Regions from separate parts of the Homo sapiens genome. Here region 1 is linked to region 2. The links are contacts of gene promoters, found by promoter capture Hi-C in blood cells and fetal thymus (Javierre and others, 2016). All regions are on one chromosome and are shown on one strand. Each heading gives the region's core, a stretch centred on a gene start or on the middle of the fragment in contact. The rest is flanking DNA. Distances are from core to core; before and after follow the strand shown. Region 1 overlaps GFM1 (G elongation factor mitochondrial 1). Region 2 holds the start of RARRES1 (retinoic acid receptor responder 1).

What was found. Contacts are between HindIII fragments. The CHiCAGO score rates a contact against its expected background, and 5 or more counts as called.
Region 1: a contact is called between a fragment that was not itself captured here and the fragment with the promoter of RARRES1 in region 2, in 3 of 17 cell types (neutrophils, erythroblasts and megakaryocytes). The highest score is 7.9, in neutrophils.

The regions. Positions count from the first base shown.
Region 1 is chr3:158,656,184-158,659,434 of GRCh38, forward strand. GFM1 (G elongation factor mitochondrial 1) reads left to right here. Exons shown (of 18, transcript NM_024996.7): 9 at 2,739-2,876. Among named protein-coding and RNA genes, the nearest start is that of GFM1, 13 kb to the left of the region's middle. The HindIII fragment of the contact is 1,588 bases long and covers 1,080-2,667 here.
Region 2 is chr3:158,730,712-158,733,730 of GRCh38, forward strand. It overlaps RARRES1 (retinoic acid receptor responder 1), which reads right to left and starts at 1,746. Exons shown (of 6, transcript NM_206963.2): 1 at 1,429-1,746. The coding sequence starts at 1,704. LOC100287290 (a long non-coding RNA gene) reads left to right here and starts at 1,650. Exons shown (of 5, transcript NR_171782.1): 1 at 1,650-1,817. RefSeq lists a silencer at 1,561-1,620 and an enhancer at 1,698-2,198. The HindIII fragment of the contact is 14,465 bases long and covers 1-3,019 here.

The sequences.
Region 1 (3,251 bases), core at 624-3,123, 74 kb before region 2:
GCTCTTGTTGCCCAGGCTGGAGTGCAATGGCACAATCTCGGCTCGCTGCAGCCTCCACCTCCCAGGTTCAAGCGAGTCTCCTGCCTCAGCCTCCCAAGTAGCTGGGATTACAGGCATGCGCCACCACGCCCAGCTAATTTTGTATTTTTAGTAGAGACATAGTTTCTCCCTGTTGGTCAGGCCGGTCTCGAACTCCTGACCTCAGGTGATCCGAGTGTCTTGGCCTCCCAAAGTGCTGGGATTACAGGCATGAGCCACCGCACCCGGCTGATTTATCATTGTTAATGCTAACCTCAATCACCACACCTGGCTGAGATAGTGTTTGACAGGTTTCTCTGCTGTAAAGTTACTGTACTCTTTTTATTCCCCTTTTCATAGTGTACTTTTTAGAAGGAAGTCACTTGGCTCAGCCAACACTTGAGGGGGGAATTATGTTCCACCCCCTTGAAGGGGGCACTATCTACATAAGTTATTTGGAATTCTTCTGAAAGGGAGATTTGTCTTTCTTCCCTGCTTATTTATCTATTTGGACAATCACTTATTTAATATCAGCGTGGACTCACGTATATGTATTTTGAACTTTGAGTTATAACTATGACTTTGAGTATGTCATTTGTTGTTCAGATTGGCTGGGTTTGGCGATTGGGAACTCTCAGTTGGCTCCTGTGTTCCTTTAACATCTTCCAATGTTTTGCCTTTTTGAATACTTCCTTACTTGCTGGCACTACAAGACGCCTCAGGCTTATCTTGTATATTCCATGCCCTAACCCTAGAATCAGCCGTTCTCCAAGGAGCACTGGTTCCTTTTTAAGTAAAATGGTATTAGAAACCAAGATTTGGGGACTGGATGGGCTTTTTGTTGAAATGCTGTTGCTTCTGTACATAATATTTTAAGTGGGGAAAAATGGTAGATAAGTTGGAAGTGTTAAGAGTGGTTATTTCTGGGATGGGATTATATTTTGGGGGCTTTTTCTTACTTTAAAAATATTTTACAGTATATTTATTACCTCCAAAATGAGGGGAAAATTTTTTTAATTAAAAAGTGGAAATAACATTACAGTAAAAGTATTTACACATAAAGCTTTTAAAAATACATATATAAGAATATTTTCTTAGGATTCCCAGAATAGTGATTATTGAGTTAAAGGCATAGAATGTTTTCATAGTTAATGGTTTATATTGCCAGATTGCGTTCATACTCTCCAAATTAATGTATTGGATTATTTCAATGAATATCATCATTGAGTATTGTTTAAAAATCATTACTGATTTAACAAATGAAGAATTCTATTGTAATCTTTTATCTTGATGAAATAAATTTTGATTTTTAAAAGCAATCAGTGCTTTAAAGTTTGTATAGTCGAATATGTCAGTCTTTCTGTTTAGTCATTCATTAATTTTTAACCTTAGCAACCTTTTATTTGTATATATTTTGTTAATATTTACTTTCGTTCCTTCTACTTCTTTATGTTTTTTTTCTTTCCCCATCATTAATTCAACTGGAATTTGTTTTAGTGGGTAGGATCTAAATGTATCTCCTCTGCCTCCAAATAGAGTATCAGTTGTCCAGTTAGTACTTTATGCACAATCCTTTCTTCCTTTTCCATTGATTTGTCATGTTTCTTTATCATCTATTGACAAATATATTTTATACTTTAGATTTTTATACTGTACTCTGTGGGGTGTTTAGTCTAATTTGTGCTGGTTCTGAATTTTCTGAGTTTCAAGCATTTTAATATGTTTTTATATCTGTCAGGGTTAGTTTTATCTTATTACCATAGTTTTTGAAAAATTTCTGTTTTTACCTATTTATTCCTCTGAATGAATTTTAAAATCACTAATCATGTTTAAAATTTCCTGTTGGGATTTCGATTGCTATTTTGTTAAGCCTATAATTAACATGGTAAGAACTGGGAACTGTTAAATATATGTTAATTGGTCACTGCTAGTATATTCAATCACTTCACAGAACTCTTTTTTTTTTTTTTTTTTTTTTTGAGACAGAGTCTCACCTATTCTGTTGCCCAGGTTGGAGTGCAGTGGTGCGATCTCGGCTCACTGCAACCTCCGCCTCCTGGGTTTAAGCAATTTTCCTGCCTCAGCTTCCCGAGTAGCTGGGATTATAGGTGTGCCACCACGTCTGGCTGATTTTTGTATTTTTAGTAGAGGTGGGGTTTTGCCATGTTGGCCAGGCTGGTCTTGAACTCCTGACCTCAGGTGATCCGCTCGCCTCTGCCTCCCAGAGTGCTGGGATTACAGGCCTGAGCGACCAGCCCAGCCACAGAACTCTTACTCACATAATTTTCCACGTGATTGTCAGAGATTGTGTTTTAGATGTATAGCACACACCTACTGTTTCTAATAGTATCTTTGTTGTTTTTCCAAGTATACCTTTTTTTTGTTTTATATCTTATTGTATTAAACTTATGAAATGTTAGAAGGCAAAAGATACTTCCTTATTATGTAAACAACTTAAAAATTTTGTTCTAATGTAATAGCTTATTTCAAAGGAAACAGAAATGTCTTAGATTGTGATACCAAAAGGATTGATGAATAACAGCCATTTATCTTATCTGTGTTCAAAGCTAGTATTAGTTTATGACAATAAACTGAAATATGTAAGATAGATTACTAAAATTGGTAGAGAATACTTGGAGGGAGTTATGAAGCTTTCCTCAATACTTTGATTATTATGTTTCTTTTTATTCTTCCTGCCCTTACCCAATCTTGACTTCTAGGTAGGTCGATTTGGACAATTAACTTATGTTCGCAGTTATCAGGGAGAGCTAAAGAAGGGTGACACCATCTATAACACAAGGACAAGAAAGAAAGTACGGTTGCAACGGCTGGCTCGCATGCATGCCGACATGATGGAGGCAAGTACAGAGTCATTGTGAGATTAGAAATTCCTCTGATGTGGGTGAAATAGACCCTTCTTGGTATCCTGAGCCCCACTAGAAAATTAATTCTGGTTAAATATATGTTTCTAGTTTCTTTCTACTTAAATGTGTTGTAGCTCTGATCTAGCACTTTGCTATAGGATAAATTAGCAGTTGTTAACTCATTTTTTTTAATACCGCTAGTTGTGAATTAGCTATATTTTCTCAAGGGCCAAGGTTAAGGAAAGAGACAGTTCCCCAACACTCAGAATACAAGATTCAGCACTTTCCTCAAGAACTATTATTACAAAAAATGTAATAGGCATTTAAGACTGTGGAACTGTGATTCTTAAAGATAAGAGAATAATAAAT
Region 2 (3,019 bases), core at 496-2,995:
AAAGTGCTGAGATTACAGGCGTGAGCCACCATGCCCCAGCAGGTTGCCTTTTTCTTTATTATTTTATTTTATTTTATTTATTTTATTTTGAGAGGGAGTTTTGCTCTTGTTACCCAGGCTGGAGTGCAGTGGCGCAATCTCGGCTCACCGCAACCTCCGCCTCCCAAGTTCAAGCGATTCTCCTGCCTCAGCCTCCCAAGTAGCTGGGATTACAGGCATGCGCCACCACACCCAGCTAATTTTGTATTTTTAGTAGAGACAGGGTTTCTCCATGTTGGTCAGGCTGGTCTCGAACTCCCGACCTCAGGTGATCCACCTGTCTCGGCCTCCCAAAGTGCTGGGATTACAGGCGTGAGCCACCGTGCCTGGCCAGGTTGCCTTTTTCTAGGAACAATTTGATTTAATCATTCAATAAATACAGCCGTGCCGGGTACAGGAATAAGTTTTGAAGAACCGAGGCTGAGCTTCTTGAAGGACTTTCCAATGGTGTTTGCTTCCAGGCGTTTGGCACTGTTAAATGAAAATCCTGCTGCTACACTTTAAAACTCGACCTATTTATTAAATACATGCGATACTCAATTCCAGATTCTTTGAGGCCGTGTGTCTGCAGGCTTTGTGGAATATCTGGAGGTTGTAGAAGGAGCAACTTTGCTTTTGGGACAGACTTAGTGTAGTTCTGTAACTTTTGTAATCTATAGGATGAAGAACGCAAAGTAGCTTCACACATACGAGACAATTCCTACAGTCAATGCCTTGAAATCAGCAACCAAACAACGGGTTGCAAAGTTCTCATTCATTCGGTTCATATAGAACACTGGGCTCGGATTCACTCACTTCTAATTAGATCAAATCAGACGCCAGCATTAGCAGGTTTCTGCCCAGGCCTACGTGTAAATTCCAACCACATTACCCCGAAGCCCTAGCGTGGTGGACTGCAATTAACAAGAGACAGTCGTCCGCGGTATGGTATGGCTACTGGCTTAGATTTTGGAAATCCCGCCCAAAACTTTGGCTGCAGCCACTAGTAGGGCGCAGGCACAGTAAGCACCCCCATAGCAACCAACTCTGGGTACCTCCGGACAAAATTAAATGTTGCCCTTTCAGCCTGTTCCTCAATTTCCCAAAGCATCTCTTTCCCAGGTGTGGGAGCAGTCAAGAGCGCTGCCCTGTGAAAAACCTATGACCTCATAAATGCTGGAAGGAACGAGCCAGATTTCTGCAGACGCTGTGCACCGAAGGGGCCCCTTCCACGCCCTGGGATACTTCAGGGGCGCCAGGCCCAGCTGGGATCTCCCCGGGCGTCGTGCGCACTGCACCTTCCCTGGCGGACCATCCGTTGGGCCGGCAGGCGCGCGTACCCAGGTGTCACCTCCCAGCGCCGTGCGCGGACAGGCAGGCGCGTGCCCCGGCGCGTCGCTCCGCACTCACCCACGCGCGGCCCTCCTGCACCTCGGCCAGCACTCGTAGCGCGCTGGGCGAGCCGGACCGGAAGTTGAAGAAGTGAAGCGCCGCGCGCGCCGCCTGCTGCAGGAGCCTGCGCGGGACCCCAGCATCCTGAGGCTGCCCAGGGTCGTCGGGGTCCCCGGACCCCGCGGGCGCCGCCACCGGGGCGAGCAACAGCAGCAGCGCGAGCAGCGGGGCGGTGGGGCGCGGGCCCCTGGGCCCGGACCAGGGAGCAGGCAGCCGTTGCCGGCGGGGCTGCATGGACGCAGGAAAGTTGGCTCGGCACCCGACAGACACGGGCTCGGAGCGGGCAGTGCCGGCGCTCGCGGAAATAAGGCCGTGGTGGGCCCCTCCCCTCCGCCCCCAGGGCGAAGGTCTGTAGCGAGCCCGGGTCCCCATGGGGCCACTCCTTTTCCACGTTTCCCGCAGCCCCTGGGTTCTCTCTGCCCCTCCCCGCTGCCCGGGCTTAGTGCTAGGATGCGGCATCGCCTCCGCAGCGCAGGGCCGGGTGCTTCTGGCCCAGGCCGCGGCGGGAGAGGGTCGGGGTTGGGGGGACAATGGGGACGCCTCCCCGAGGAATCGCGGCCCGCCCGTGCTACCTCGTACCGCGTCCCTAGCCCAGCTCAGGGACTTGGCGTTTCCCCTGCGGTTTCGCAACCCTGGGGTTTTAGAGGGAAACTGCTTGGATTCTCCAAGCATTAGGGCTGTGATTTCCCAGCAGGTGAAAGGGGACGGCGGAGAAAGGGGCAGGCCGCAGCGGGCATTGATGGGGCTCCTCGTGGCACAGCCACTGTGGAGGTGGGAGAAGTCGCCAGAGGGCTGGGGCTGGGGAGGAGGTGAAGGTGGATGCCGGCAGGGAGCCCGGGACGCCGGAGCCAGGGGCTGGGGACGGGCCTGAACACCTGCCGGTCCTGCCCAGAAGAGGCGCCGAGGAGGGAGGAGTGGGCAGCAAGGCAGGGTAAGATAAGGCCTGAGAGTCCCATTTGTCTCAGAAGCAAGTAGGTCATTGATACATTGATAACCACTGTGCGAGGCAGATTTAAAGGCCGGGGATGGAAGTCGGATTCCAGCGGGGTGAGGCATGGATGGGGCTTCAGGGAATGGAGGCAGCAAGTGTTGGCAACTCTTTTTTTTTTTTTTTTTTTTGAGACCATGTCTTGCTCTGTCTCCCAGGCTGGAGTGCAGTGGCACGATCTTGGCTCACTGCAACCTCCGCCTCCCAGGTTCAAGCAATTCTACCTCAGCCTCCCGAGTAGCTGGGACTACAGCCACCATGCCCGGCTAATTTTTGTATTTTTAGTAAAGACGGGGTTTCACCATGTTGGTCAGGCTGGTCTCAAACTCCTGACCTCGTGAGCCGCCCGCCTGGGCCTCCCAAAGTGCTGGGATTACAGGCGTGAGCCACGGTACCCGGCGGCAACTCTTTTTAGACAGGTGGCAGTGAAGGGCTAAGATAGCCATTGTTTTTAAACCGTAGGCAAGAGAAAAAGTCCTGGAGAACCAGGGCTGAGAGAGGAGAACTGGTACTGCTAGGCACTCCCAACATCCATTTCTCCATCCTGCATTTTGTTCAGGG